5 separate regions of the Homo sapiens genome follow, and regions 2, 3, 4 and 5 are each linked to region 1. Evidence: promoter capture Hi-C in 16 types of primary human blood cells and fetal thymus (Javierre and others, 2016). All regions are on one chromosome and are shown on one strand. The core of a region is centred on a gene start or on the middle of the fragment in contact, and the rest is flanking DNA. Distances in the headings are between cores, read along the strand shown. Region 1 holds the start of CDK6 (cyclin dependent kinase 6). Region 2 overlaps VPS50 (VPS50 subunit of EARP/GARPII complex). Region 3 overlaps PEX1 (peroxisomal biogenesis factor 1). Region 4 holds the start of SAMD9 (sterile alpha motif domain containing 9). Region 5 overlaps FAM133B (family with sequence similarity 133 member B).

What was found. Contacts are between HindIII fragments. The CHiCAGO score rates a contact against its expected background, and 5 or more counts as called.
Region 2: a fragment that was not itself captured here is called in contact with the fragment with the promoter of CDK6 in region 1 in 2 of 17 cell types (neutrophils and fetal thymus); the score reaches 5.4 in neutrophils.
Region 3: a contact is called between a fragment that was not itself captured here and the fragment with the promoter of CDK6 in region 1, in 1 of 17 cell types (fetal thymus). The highest score is 9.3, in fetal thymus.
Region 4: a fragment that was not itself captured here is called in contact with the fragment with the promoter of CDK6 in region 1 in 13 of 17 cell types (fetal thymus, monocytes, erythroblasts and 10 more); the score reaches 16.8 in fetal thymus.
Region 5: a contact is called between a fragment that was not itself captured here and the fragment with the promoter of CDK6 in region 1, in 2 of 17 cell types (activated CD4 T cells and naive CD4 T cells). The highest score is 5.9, in activated CD4 T cells.

The regions. Positions count from the first base shown.
Region 1 is chr7:92,835,221-92,837,939 of GRCh38, reverse strand. It overlaps CDK6 (cyclin dependent kinase 6), which reads left to right and starts at 1,367. Exons shown (of 8, transcript NM_001145306.2): 1 at 1,367-1,462. CDK6-AS1 (CDK6 antisense RNA 1) reads right to left here and starts at 1,457. Exons shown (of 2, transcript NR_110088.1): 1 at 1,377-1,457. RefSeq lists silencers at 1,065-1,424, 2,535-2,719 and an enhancer at 1,875-1,954. The HindIII fragment of the contact is 6,850 bases long and covers 1-2,719 here.
Region 2 is chr7:93,238,293-93,241,011 of GRCh38, reverse strand. VPS50 (VPS50 subunit of EARP/GARPII complex) reads right to left here. Exons shown (of 28, transcript NM_017667.4): 2 at 1,078-1,146. Among named protein-coding and RNA genes, the nearest start is that of VPS50, 7.3 kb to the right of the region's middle. The HindIII fragment of the contact is 740 bases long and covers 997-1,736 here.
Region 3 is chr7:92,523,714-92,526,432 of GRCh38, reverse strand. The region is part of intron 1 of PEX1 (peroxisomal biogenesis factor 1); the gene reads left to right. Among named protein-coding and RNA genes, the nearest start is that of PEX1, 3.4 kb to the left of the region's middle. The HindIII fragment of the contact is 2,467 bases long and covers 108-2,574 here.
Region 4 is chr7:93,115,769-93,118,487 of GRCh38, reverse strand. It overlaps SAMD9 (sterile alpha motif domain containing 9), which reads left to right and starts at 509. Exons shown (of 3, transcript NM_017654.4): 1 at 509-625. The HindIII fragment of the contact is 1,297 bases long and covers 716-2,012 here.
Region 5 is chr7:92,563,734-92,566,452 of GRCh38, reverse strand. It overlaps FAM133B (family with sequence similarity 133 member B), which reads left to right. Exons shown (of 11, transcript NM_152789.4): 10 at 392-439. Among named protein-coding and RNA genes, the nearest start is that of FAM133B, 25 kb to the left of the region's middle. The HindIII fragment of the contact is 1,774 bases long and covers 516-2,289 here.

The DNA.
Region 1 (2,719 bases), core at 118-2,617:
TTCCAATTCAAACAGAATTTTGCCAGGTTTTAATTTTTCTACAAAGCACTTAAGTAAATAATTTTGTGAAAAGTTTTGCTTTAAGATGTTTTAAAGGGTTTCAAGTATTCTACAGATAGAGATTTTGGGGAGAACACCAAATTCTTTCCAAAAAGACAGCTATTTCAAGTTTTCTTTTACTCCATTGTAGAAAGTTTTAAAGACTTTTTTTTCTCCAAAATCTAATTTTCACCTGAAATAATTGTATTCAAGGGTTTCTCAGCAGGTAAAGTATACATTCTTACAAGGTTTCAAATTTCAGATTTCCAATAATGCATTTAAACTGAGCACTCCTCTTTTTGTGTATGTATCTACTATCTGCAGTTCTATTATTTACACTAAATTTTAGTCTTTTTAGCTCCTCTGAAATACGTTAGTGAACCCTCAGCAGTTACTAACCACTTAATAATTGTGAGCCCGCCAGCCCCTTCAAGTAGATCGTTAACCATAAGAGTGCCTGACAATTTCCAAACCATATCCTCTGTCTAAAAGGAAAAGATAGGGCTTTGTGAGGCAGAAAGGAAGCGAAGGAAAACAAAACAAATGTAGCTCATGCTGAAAGTGAAAAGTGCTTGGATAGATTAGTATTTTCTTTTCTGCAAGGCATCCTGCCAAACTTTTTCTTTATTTTTTTAAGAGAAGAGTTATTTTTTGGTCTGATTTTTCAGTTTCTTGGAAAGTATTGGTATTTACCACCCCCATTGGCCGCTCATAATTATTGTTGGTTGTTTTGTGTTTTTCCCATCCGTCCACGTCACACAGTGAGGATGCCCCCCGCTTCACCCTGTCAAAACCCCAACTCTGGGCGACCCTGGGTTTGGAAACTCCGCCGACTCCCGACGACACGTCCCACTCTCTCCCACTAATGCCGCTTATTTTAGTCGCAGGATCCCCCTACTACAGTTTCAGCGAAAGCCGGAAATTTTCATTTAACTCTCCCCCCCACCCCCACCCCCACCGCGCCCTTCTAGCCCCCGACTCGTAGAAGGGAGCTAGGGAGCCCGGAGCTCGGAGCACTGCCGGGACTCGGCCGCCTCATTTCTCTCCGGAAGGCTTTAATTTGCACACTTTCTTGCCACTGCGCCACGAGCCCCCAGCCCCGCCGGGGGGTGGGTCTCCGGCAGAGTTGGCTTCGCGGGTCCCTGCCCCCACCCCGCACGGTCGCCCCAGCTGCCTCCCCGGCTGGGGCCCCCAGCGCCGGCCGGAGCCCAGCGGCCCCCGTCCGCCCCCAGCGAGCGGCGCGGGCGGCGCCCTCCGCCGTCCCTCCGCCCTCCGCCGCTGTGCCCACCCCCTCGCCGGAGAGAGTGCTGGTAACTCCTTCCCCAGAGTCTGATTACCTGCTCCGCGAGGCCGCGGACACGTGCGGAGAGCCGACTGACACTCGCAGCCCCCTCGGGAGGCCCGACGCGACTGGGCCCCTCAGGTGAGGAGCTGTGCGCTCGGGTGGGTGGGCTGCGGGGTGGGGGGTCCCGGGGGAGATCTGGGGGATTGGCCGGGGTCCGAGGCAGAACTGTGGGTGGGGTAAGTGGAGGGTGGCGGGGGGTGGGGGGGACCTGTGTTTCCTTGGAATCGGCTTTGGTTAACCCCTTACGAACTGAGACGGGATTGGTTATGGGGGCCAGTTTTGGGGAGCTAGAGGATTCTCCTTATCTGATGAGAGGGGGAGATCCCAGCCTAGGGACACCCGCGACACCGAGATCCTGCTTCCACGTATCCGTACGCACACACACCCACACGGAACACGCCTCATACAGTTTCTCCAAACGGAACTGGAACTCTACTCGGACACTCACATAATAATTCACATTTAGGGTTTAAAATGCACTGCCTCTAGGGACTCCATGCTGGAGAATGTGCTTGCATTTCCCCCTCGAAAACTCCCTCTCCAGCTCGCTGAGGTGTGGGTGTGGGCTCCACCTTCCCCTCCACGAGATAAATGTTAACGCAGGCTTCCTGCGGGCGTGTTATACACAGAAAAGTGCACGCAGCCGGCCAGTGCCCAGGCTTGGAGCCCCGCGAAGACGCACGTTTGCTGTAGTTTCCAAGTTTACTTTTATAATTTAAAATATTGGAGTTAAACACACGCCCCGCAGTGAGCAGCCCTGGTCCCCGCAGCGCGCCCGTCCGTGTGCATATGGGCGCATCTGCGTGTGCGCACACGCGGGAGTCGCGGTCCCCGGTGTGGCCTCTTGTCGCTGTGCTGGTGGCGACCCTTGTGGTGCTTGGCAGGCTTCGGGAGAGGCGCATGAAGGATTTCATTGAGTGTGAAGACAGAGAGCAGAGACAGAAAGCAGAAGGAGGCGGCTGCAGCCTTTGTAGTCGCGGAGGAATGCGGAAATGTTGAAGCACTATGTCAAACTTTTTTTGAAATGGGGTCAAGTCACATTCAGCCAGCGTGGGAAAGCAACAACAACAACAAAAAAAAGTGGAGGAGAGGGGGGGAAAAGGCATTGCTGCTCCCGTTTCTCTCCGCCGAAGCCGACCGTCTGGGGGGCGAGTGGGGGGAGAGCCAGGGCAGTGCGGGGCCCGGCGGGGGCAGCAGGCGCAGTTCCCTGCGGGGGTGGGACGTCCCCGACGCTTCCTTCGCTGCGGAGCCCGGGGCTAGACTCGAGCGGGAGGGGGTTGGGGGGATGCAGGACAGGCGGGTTGGGCGGCCGGCGGCGGCTCCCCGGCTACCTGT
Region 2 (2,719 bases), core at 117-2,616, 400 kb before region 1:
AACCTTTTCATAGTCATTAATTTTTAATAACATTACATAAAACTATACGGAATGCTTTTCTTAAGTTTTTGTCTGAACCATTTCATGCAAAAGGGTTGGTTATAATTTTATTGCATTTGGAGAATATGTTTCAGCCTAACCCAAAATAAAAACAATGCAGTAAATACAAAATTCACTTTAGCAGGTAAGGCACCTGAAAGAGATGAGAAATCATCCTCCTAAGGAGCTGACACCGAGGTGTAAGGAGAGGCCTTAAACTGCTGATCAAGAGAAGCACACCCTGTGTATTCAAATGCCTGATGCAGAAAACAAACAGTATTTTCACGTATCACTCTCAAATTAAAAAATACAAAAACAGACATTCAGAAGTGCCAGCTTAATCTGTGATGGAGCAGCTATTCACATGGGCAGCTCCAAGCAGCAACACTCCAGAAAAACAGCAGGGATTTAACAATACTTAATAATTCCAAGGGGAATCTAGCTAGCTTTCAAATAACCTATATAAAATTTGTAAACTGAGAAATTCACGTGAATATCAGAGGATTAAAATCTAAAATACCTACAATCTAGGAGATAAGTTATACAATTCAGTATAAATACTATGGTTTAGATGCTTTTTCAAAAACCTCTGCTCCACAACAAAAATATAATCATGATTTTTGGCACAGAATGTTAGGAGTATAAAAAGTCAGTAGTCAACTATTTCACTTTATTTCTACAAATTACAGCAGATAAATCAATGAGAGAGAGAGAGAGAGAGAGTGTGTGTGTGTGTGTGTGTGTGTGTGTGTGTGCATACACATATATACAACTGCTTTCAGGCTAAGAATTTAATATAATAAATTCCAAATTTATCAAGTTTGCATTTTTTGCTTTGCTATAATGCATCATACATACTGCATCCCAACGTGTAATGAAACAAGCCCTACACCTACTATACAATAAAAATTTACCTAGCTTATCTTAACAACCATCTGCCTGTGGGAAAGAAAAGCTTCTGTGAATCAATTACTATCCAGAGGCAATCATATTTTCTTAAGGAAGTAAAAAGTCACGCTCACACGTGTAGCTCAATACCTTTCCAGGGACCCGGAGACTCTCTATGGCACCAAGATCACTGAGGCTTTCTTGAGGGCTTTTCAGACCCTTAAAAAAATAATAAGATGAGGAAAATTTTAATCATGCTGAAGAATTATAAAAGGATAGAATACACCTACTGAAACAGAAATGACCACTTTAAAAATAGAAATTTTCCTGCTTCAAAATATGGAAGATATATTCTAAAAGCAATCATCATTTAATACATATAGTACTATTATTAAATCAGAGAAGGGTGTACTTTTGGTATTTTAAAATAAAAGAGTATTATACGGCAACTTCACAACTAATGGTAGAAGTCCAACCCATCTATGATTTGAAAACAGCCAAAAGTAAAGAAACTTACATAACAAAAAGCATTCTATAAAAGCCACTTGTATATACAATAATAATTACTAAATCCATCAGGAAAAAAGTCCAAGCAATAGTATTATGATTCACAGATACAATATACTAACCAACTAAGCTAACATATAAGTAATCCCTTCATTTTACTTGATTATTTCCCACCAATGTATCCAATTCATGCTGCATAAATTAAGATTGAAGTCTCATATCTCACTGTCTTTTACCTGTCCTTTAGTTCTTTGGTGCCCTGTACTTTCTATATTCACATCAACTGAGGGATTCTGAAAGCTTTATTTGTACCAGGGGAAATTATTAAAATAGAAAGAAATCAGCAATTTACATTTTCTTTAAAATCCTCTTTTTAAAAATAGGCTATTCGAAGCAGACATTTAATGTCCCTGCAATATTAGTTTTTAGGCAAAATTAGCTATTATTAATTTGAGGAGAGATTTATGATACAAATTGTCCTTTAGGTGCCCTATATTGGGGATCCTTAGTAACCAAAATATATGGTATGCTTATGTTGACTATTTGAGACTCAGAGCAGAACTTGCTTATCTTTAAACTACAGAGATGTGTATTTTCTCTTCCCTGTTGTAAAATACCACTAGTCATATCTAAAATTTTTTATTACAAAGTGCTCTGCCTCAACCGCAAGTTTTCCATTACCCCCAGAATATCTAACCTACCCACCCTTCTCTCCCCGTCTCCCTCTCTCAGGCACACTTACCACTCCAAGAAATGAGAAAGCAATACATCACTTTCAGAATTATCTCCTCTACAAAGTCTTCCTAAATCCCTATGCTCCAAAGAACACAGTATTTCTCAGTATAACCCTTGGATCATGTCCATCAACACCACCCAGGGAACTTGTTAAAAGTAAGATTCCTAGGCCCTAAAATAAACCTAATGAATAGGTTTTTCTAGATTTGGGCCAGGAATGTGCATTTTCCCAAAACAATACCTCAGTAAGACATCTTCCAAGACAATACCTCAGCCAAAGTAGTAAAGTTTTAAATTTTAAATATATCTTTCTCTTCCAAACTTTAAGTCCTAAGGAAAGGGAGAGACAAAGTCCTATTTGCCTCTGCAGCCCAGTGGCTAGCAAAGTTCCAGAAACAGAGTAAACAACAAAGAAATGAGTAAATTATTAGGTAGAAGTCATTGGTCAGGCTCCAATCTCCCACAAATTAGCGCATTGTTCCCATGGGAACATGTAATTGACTGCAAAAAAATTTCTAGGAATGCTCGCTGGAAAAAAAAAAAAGGCCTA
Region 3 (2,719 bases), core at 92-2,591, 310 kb after region 1:
TACTTTATTTGGGGTGAAGCATTGAGTGCATAATACAGATCATGCAGTAATGGGAAGAAGGGTTGGAACAATGGTTTTCTGGCCTATGTCAGACTTACCTTGAAGCTTTTAAGAATACAGATGTTCTGATCAACCCTCAGACCTATTAAATCAGACCTAAAATCTTAGGGAATAGGCTTTAGGCATCTCTAATTTTAAAAAATTTATTCAGGCTACTTGGATGCACAAAAGAGTTGAGACCTACTGTCCTAGAATCATAGAATTTTAATGACGATAGAGACCTTAAGCATCTAGGTCGTTTCTGTACTTTTACATGTAAGGAAACTGGCATTCCTAGGCCAGTACCATTGCCATGCAGCTAATTTGCCCTCTTGTCTATAGCTCACTCTGCATCACCCAACCTACCGTTCTCACTGTTTCTTCTATAACCAATCTCCTTCCCACTTCTGTTCTCTTACTCATGCCATTCTTCCCTCAGTCATTTTTCTTCCTTCCATACAAATTCCATGTCTTTAAAAAGGAATAATCCTACCTCCTCCACATAGCTTTCCAATTCTCTGTTGCCCACATTTGTCTCCCTTTCAATACTTCTCTGTTGTGTTATGTGACACATCACATTTGATATACTCTGTACTGTGTTTCAAGTATTGTATTCTCTTGTTTACTCAAGTCATTATTTCAGGACTGACTACCCAGTAGATGCTTTAAGTCAGGATTTCTCAACCTTGGCACTGTTGACATTTTGAGCTGGATAATTTTTTGTTTTGGGGGCTCTCCTGTACATTTTAAGATGTTTAACAGCACCCTTGGCCTCTATCCAGTAGACGCCTGTACTGCCTCCCCCTATCTGTGACAACCAAAAAGGTCTTCAGACATTGTCAGATGTCTACTGAAGGACAAAATCACCTCTGGTTGAGAACCACCGCTTCAACTAAGTTATCTTCTCTGTACTCAGAACTTGATGTGATTGCAGCAGGGGGAGAGGATTCATATACACAGTGAATGCAAACGAACCTAAATCACCATTCGGATATGGCCACACAATTTTCATTTCCCTTGTGTTAGCAAGAGATACCCTAGGCTTTGGACCTGATTATTCCTAAGGCATTCTGATGTATGGTTTTACCTGCAGATTTCCTGGTAATACTGATACCTCAGTTTGGGTCAAAGAAGGTCAATTAATTGATTGATTTGATTTGACTCCTGGAAAAGACGCTCCTTTCTAGCTGTCTCTTTCTTCTCTTTACCTGAATAGCCAGGGCTCTGTGGTTCAAGTGAAGTATTTTGACATAAAAATTAACTTAGAACATTGGTCTGCAGAGTTTGCTCAATATAACTGAGCACATATTGTGGCTTTATGGAGCTGGTTACTACTTTTTGACCAAATAAATAATTAGAAGTATTTTTCCTCCTCAATAAGGTTCATTTTTCCTTTTTTCAGTGAGCTGGTAGAGTTTCCTTTTTTGATATTTCAGGGCATCTTTCATATTTCCATCTCTTAAGTTTCTTCATATGAAGTAGAATTTATCTGGATTATGTATTGCTGACTCTGATGAAAACCCATAGAAAGCATCTGGGGCTTGATCACCTTCATTCTTGTAATAGCTCACACGGTTACAGCTGATATGGTAACTTAAGACTTTTGATTCCAAATCTAGGCAAAATACACTCAGTTGAAAGAATTTGTCAGCCAGAACAGTTGGACTGTTCTGTGAAAATTGTGAGAAAAATTACACAACTAAGTGATACATGATGATGGCTTTCTTAAATATAAAATTGTAATAACATGGTTAATTTCCAGTACGTTATATTGTCCCAGAAGTGGCTCCAACATTGTTTGAAATTTGTCTCATTTAAAGAAACATAAGCTGGCTATGGTGGCTCACGCCTGTAATCCCAGCACTTTGGGAGGCTGAGGCAGGCAGATCACCTGAGGTCAGGAGTTCGAGACCAGCCTGGCCAACATGGTAAAACCCCATCTCTACTAAAAATACAAAAATTAGCCGGGCATTTGGTGGGGGCCTGTAATCCCAGCTACTTGGGAGGCTGAGGCAGGAGAATTGCTTGAATCTGGGAGGTGGAGGTTGCAGTGAGCCGAGATTGTGCCACTGCCCTCCAGCCTGGGTGACAGAGTGAGTCTCCGTCTCAAGAAAAAAAAAAAAAAAAGCAAGAAACATAAAGACTGGGCATGTTGGCTCATGCCTGTAATCCCAGCACTTTGAGAGACTGAGGTGGGAAGATCACTTGAGCCCAGGAGGTTAAGGCTGCAGTGAGCCGTGATTTTGCCACTGTACTCGAGCCTGGGCAACACAGTGAGATCCTGTCTCAGGAAAAAAAAAATTGCATGTAAATGAATGAATTTGATATTTAATATTTTAAATTATGAAAACTGTTCTGTAGAGATGTAGATCTTGCCATGTTGCCCAGGCTGGCTTTGAACTTCTGGGCTCAAACAATCCTCCTGTCTCAGTCTCCCAAAGTATAAAGATTACACATGTGAGCCACTGCACCTGGCCTAATATTTTTAACTTAATGAATTTATTTTGATATAAATAAATTAATAACACTGAAGCTTCCTGATATAATAAGTCTTTTTGTGTGTGTGACGGGTTCTCACTCTGTTGCCCAGACTGGAGTGTAATGGCACTATCATGGCTCACTGTAGCCTCAACCTCCCTGACTCAAGTGATCCTCCCACCTCGGCTTCCTGAGTAGATGG
Region 4 (2,719 bases), core at 115-2,614, 280 kb before region 1:
TTATTGGGGTGCTCAAAGAAGTCCTATCCCTGAAAGACATTCTTTACACTTTAGGAAAACAGGAATGGACAGTAACTCCACCCTTAAAGGCCAGTGAAATATTGACCTAGAGTATCTCCAACCTGGTGCTCTACAAGGCTGGGACTGCAATGTAAACTCATATTCCCAAGGGATCAATTAAGCCAGAATATCCCACAGTTTGTCTATAACAAGACAATGGGGCTTTCTGCAGCCCTCAAAACTCTCAAGTGAGGAAAAATTGTTAAGCCTTCAGATTTTAACCAAGCAGACCAGAAGGTGGTATATAGCCATAGCTTATTAAAAAGCATTTCAGATAGAAAAGGCGGTGCTGTAATTTCAGATCTGAGAAATGAAACTGAAACCAAACCTATATTCTTCCTTCCCCAACCTCCCAGTTGTTAAACACGCCCTGCTGTTTCTGAGCCAATTAGAGCTTGCTGTGAGACAGAAGCAGAGAATACATAGACTTCCGTTAAAACCAGAATGAGGAAAATACTTTTCTCTAGCATCGTAGGAGGAAGAAAACAAACACATCAGATATTTTCAGCACTAAAAGAGATGGTTTTCCCCACATATATGTAAAAGAAATTTGCAAGACTACTGGGTAAGTACAATATCTATTATTAATATTGTTCTTACTATCTATAGCAGCATTTTATTGAATAGAAAGAAATATACTTTTCAATTAGAAGCTTCAAATATACCTCAAAACAAAAAATAGTATTCTAAGCCTAGAAATTCTAGACTATTTGTTGCTCTGACAGCAGTCTGCTTTATATTAGTTGAAAAATTAGTCATAACATTTCATTAAAGATGCAGTTGAAAACTACAGACACTTTTATTGATGAACTCTCCCAAGGCATACAGCATCTTCAGAAAGAACAAACAGGCCAGGTGTGGTAGCCTGTAATTTGAGCACTTTGGAAGGCAAGGACAGGAGAATTGTTTGAGGCCAGGAATTCAAAATTAGCTTGGGCAACATAGCAAGACCCTACCTAGCAAGATTCCTACCAAAAAAAAAAATAGCTGGATGTGGTGGCACGCAGCTGCAGTCTAGCTACTTTGGAGGCTGAGGCAGAAGGATTGCTTGAGCCCAGGAATTTAAGGTTACAGTGAGCTGTAATTGTACCACTGCACTCCAGCATAGGCAACAGAGTGAGACACTGTCTCAAAAACAACAACAACAACAACAACAACAACAACAACAAACGGAAAGATAGATAAAGAACAGGCAATGAAAACTTAAAAGTACTTTACTTTAATCAAATACAACTTCCACCATCTACTCTAAGAAATAGGTAGCTTCCAGAAAACAAAACTCTCTGAGAGCTTCTCAGATATTGTTGTCGGATGACATACATAGGAAGACAGACAGACAGATAGACTACTATGGGAAGTCTTTGGAATTAAGGCAGCTTTATGTTCCTGGCAAAAATACTAGGTTTATGTCTAATTTCTCCCCAAAGCAAACAGTAAGATAATGCAAGACGGTTGGAGGATCACATTTCTGAATAAAGGTCTGACCTTCAACTCCCTTCTAGAAAAGTTAACAAACCCTACAGTTTAACACCAACCAGAGTTAAAAAATGTATGTGGGTTCAATCAGTAACAAATAGTGTTTCCTACTAAGATGCTCAGAACCAAATTTTCAGGTCAGTTTTTAAAGTATACGGAATCAAAACCAGTAATTTTAGGTACTAATTTTACTCCCTCATTTCACCTTTTCTCCCCCTACCCTTATTTAGCCTTCCCCATGATTTCTTTACCTAAGGGTTTTAATATATGTGTGATCCTATATTACTTTCTAAATTACCTAAAAAACATTTTGGAACGAGAGGGTATAAAGAAATCATTAATATGTAAAATATCTATGAACAGTGGCATAAATACCTATGAATGCTGGCATATATTTTCTCCAAGAGTGACATCATCAACAATTTTTTTAAAATAATGTATTGAAAGGCACAGCTATCAATAATCTGACAAAAGCTTTAGGGGAAGAAGTGTGAAAGTGTAACCTGTTCAATGACATTTGAAATATTCATAGTGTCTCTAGTAGAGAAAACAGTCAAAAGTCACTTCTTTATTATTTGCTTACTTTCCCAACCAAATGTTCAGGCCCAGTTCTCCATCCCCCACACTCTTATATGAGAACCTGACTTTACGTTTTCACATATAATGGTATGTAGTTCTTGCATGAATCAAATAATCCATCTAATTCACCAGTCTCATAATCTAGTTTATGACATATCACCAGAGACTAAGGACTGTGTCTGTAAAACTGTGAAAGGTCCAAGTTGATGAAGGAAGTCAGGGAGACCCTAGGAAAAGGGTACTGGTGGGAAGCGGCGAGATGGGGGATGAGAGCCATAGGTATGAGGCCTCAGGAGCCAGCGCACGCTAGCAGCACAATAATCGGGGACCCCTGCTTTATGTGTTAAATAGTGTGGGTGCAACAAAAGTGAGCATACTTTCATAGGGTGGAGTAGACGTGACTCAGTAAATGGATACAAGAAAGTGACTCAGATAGAATGGTTACTAGACGAGGGTGTAGTCAGTTTTTAGACAACTCTAAAACCAGTATTGAATCAACACTGAGTGGGATGCAGAAGTCAAAAGTTCATAATCTGAGACTGCAATAATAAACACCTAGTAAAACTTTAGGACCTCACATACCATTGAATTCACAATTATCCTT
Region 5 (2,719 bases), core at 153-2,652, 270 kb after region 1:
GAGCTCTCACTATGTTGCTCAGGCTGGCCTTGAACTCCTGGGCTCAAGCAAGCCTCCTGCCTTGGCCTCCCAAAATGCTGAGATTACAGGCAAGAGCAACCACACTCGGCCTAAAGCTGATGTTTTTTTCCACTGTACCACATTTTTTTAGGTGCTGAAAGGGAATATAAGAGAAGCTGTCTAGAGATTTTACGTCTTAATTGTCCTTCCTTTATGTTTTTTATTGAAACCTCATTGAGATATAACAGGAGTTATTTTAAATGTCCTGTGATTGTCAAAATGTTTTTTACATTTAAATTTTGAAGATGCAAGATAGAGAATGAAAGAAAAATGCCTTGAGTACAAATTACATGTTTGTCTTCTGTTCTCCACAAAAATTTAAACTTTCTAGGTGCGAGCAAAAAAGAAGAAAAGCAGTGAAGAACGAGAAAAAGCAACAGCAAGTATCTCTTAACGTTTTTACAGACAATAGAATAGGTGTTTTGGTTTAATATAAAATGAGTCATGGTAAAGCTTGATTGGATTTACTGGGACCAAATAAGTATTTGTTGGGAAAGGTGTGGTGTGTTCAGCAGCTTCACTTAATGGGTAGGAGAAAGTCAAAATGGTTCAGGAAAAATAAAAAATACCCTGGTAGCAAGCATGTCCTGTTTCCATTTCAGTATTTTACTGTTAGAAATATAAGCTCAGGGCTGGGCGCTGTGTCTCACGCCTGTAATCCCAGCACTTTGAGAGGCTGAGGCAGGTGGATCATGAGGTCAGGAGCTCGAGACCATCCTGGCTAACACGGTGAAACCCCGTCTCTACTAAAAATACAAAAAATTAGCCGGGCATGGTGGCGGGCACCTATAGTCCCAGCTACTCGGGAGGCTGAGGCAGGAGAATGGCGTGAACCCGGGAGGCAGAGCTTGCAGTGAGCTGAGATCACGCCACTGCACTCCAGCCTGGGCGACAGAGTGCGACTCCGTCTCAAAAAACATATATATATATATAAGCTCAGGTGGGGCACAGTGGCTCACGCCTGTAATCCCAGCACTTTGGGAGGCCGAGACGGGTGGATTGCAAGGTCAGGAGTTCAAGACCAGCCTGTCCAACATGGTGAAACCCCGTCTCTACTAAAAAAAAAAATACAAAAATTAGCCGGGCGTGGTGGCGGGCGCCTGTAATCCAGCTATTCGGGAGGCTGAGGCAGGAGAATTGCTTGAACCTGGGCAGCAGAGGTTGCAGTGAGCTGAGATCGCCCCACTGCACTCCAGCCTCAGCAACAGAGCAAGACTCCGTCTTAAAAAAAAAAAAAAAAAAAGAAATATAAGCTCAAATTTCTGTTTGACTTCCTTAAGCTACAATATGAAATACGAGAGACCAAAGTATGGTGATTTCTGTTATCTTTGATAATAGTTACTTCCAAATCAGCCAAATCTGGTAATAACAGAAAAAGCCTCTCCAAGCACTAGCTGCAATGAAAAAATAATAATATGACAACATAAATGACTCATTAATAAAGATTCTTTTGATAGCTTTTAAAGCCAAACTCTGCTATTAATGCAAATTGAGAAGAAAAGAGAAAGAAGAGGCGAATTAAGGAAAATAGAAGTAGTATCCAAACAAGAAACAGATCAACCAAGAGAAAATGGTTAACAGAGATTATTTTCAAAGAGTAATGCCAACAATATCAGCAAAGTAATTTAGGGGCCCTCAGTATAAATGTGAGCTATGACCTTTGAAGGCATTTTCTTAGGGAAAGGTGAAAGAAAAATGAAAACATCATCATTTGTAGGTTTCAGTAACCCCTTCCCAGAATTTTCCTGACTCTTAAAACGAGGTACCTTCTCTGATAGGAAGGCTCCCCTAGTAATGATTCAGAAATAACATTTTATGTGCTCCAAGCCTACGATGACGAATAAGTTTTTGTTTGTTTGTTTGTTTGTTCTGAATGTGAAAGTAGTTTGGGTGAAGATAGCTTTGGTCTGTGGTTCGGATTAATTAATTAAGACATAACCAAATAAGTATTTGCATACTTTCACTGTTTCATGCTTTCAGCTAGTGTGTATGTATGAAGCAACTCTATGCAGGCACTTTTCTAAGTCTTAAGAGTACAAAAGAGTATGAGATAGAAGAATATGATACGTGAGAGAGATACTGTGGGGACGGGCTCATGAAATCCTCGCTGAGGAAGTGAAATTAAGCTGAAATCTGATTTACAAGAAAGAGCCAACCATGTGAATATCAAAGGAAAGAATATCCTAGGCAGAGGGAAGAGCTCTTAGAGACCTATAGTGAGAATAAGCTTGATATATTTGAGGGACTAAGAGAAGGTAAGTGGCTTAATGCCTGGTGGGGAAAGAGGAATGCCATACAATGAGGGTAGGAAGTAAGCAGAGGCTTACTTACATTACACAGCAGAGTGTGTTTTCATCAGAATGTTATAAGAAGCTGTTCTGAGGGTTTTAAACAAAGAGGTGACCTAAATATTTTACATTTTGTAAATCCTTTGGTACAGGAGATAAGTGGGCACAAGTGAGGAATGATGTTTGTACAGCAGTGATAGTAATGGAGTTGGACTGGCAAGGATGGATTTGAGATACATTTTGAACTTAGATGGTAAGACTTGCTTGGTACTTTGAATGCGGACATTGGAGTTAAAGAGCAGAATCAGAGATAGCTTAGATTCTTTGACCTAAGCAAAATGACAGATAAGTAGTGCCAGTTACTAAGATGG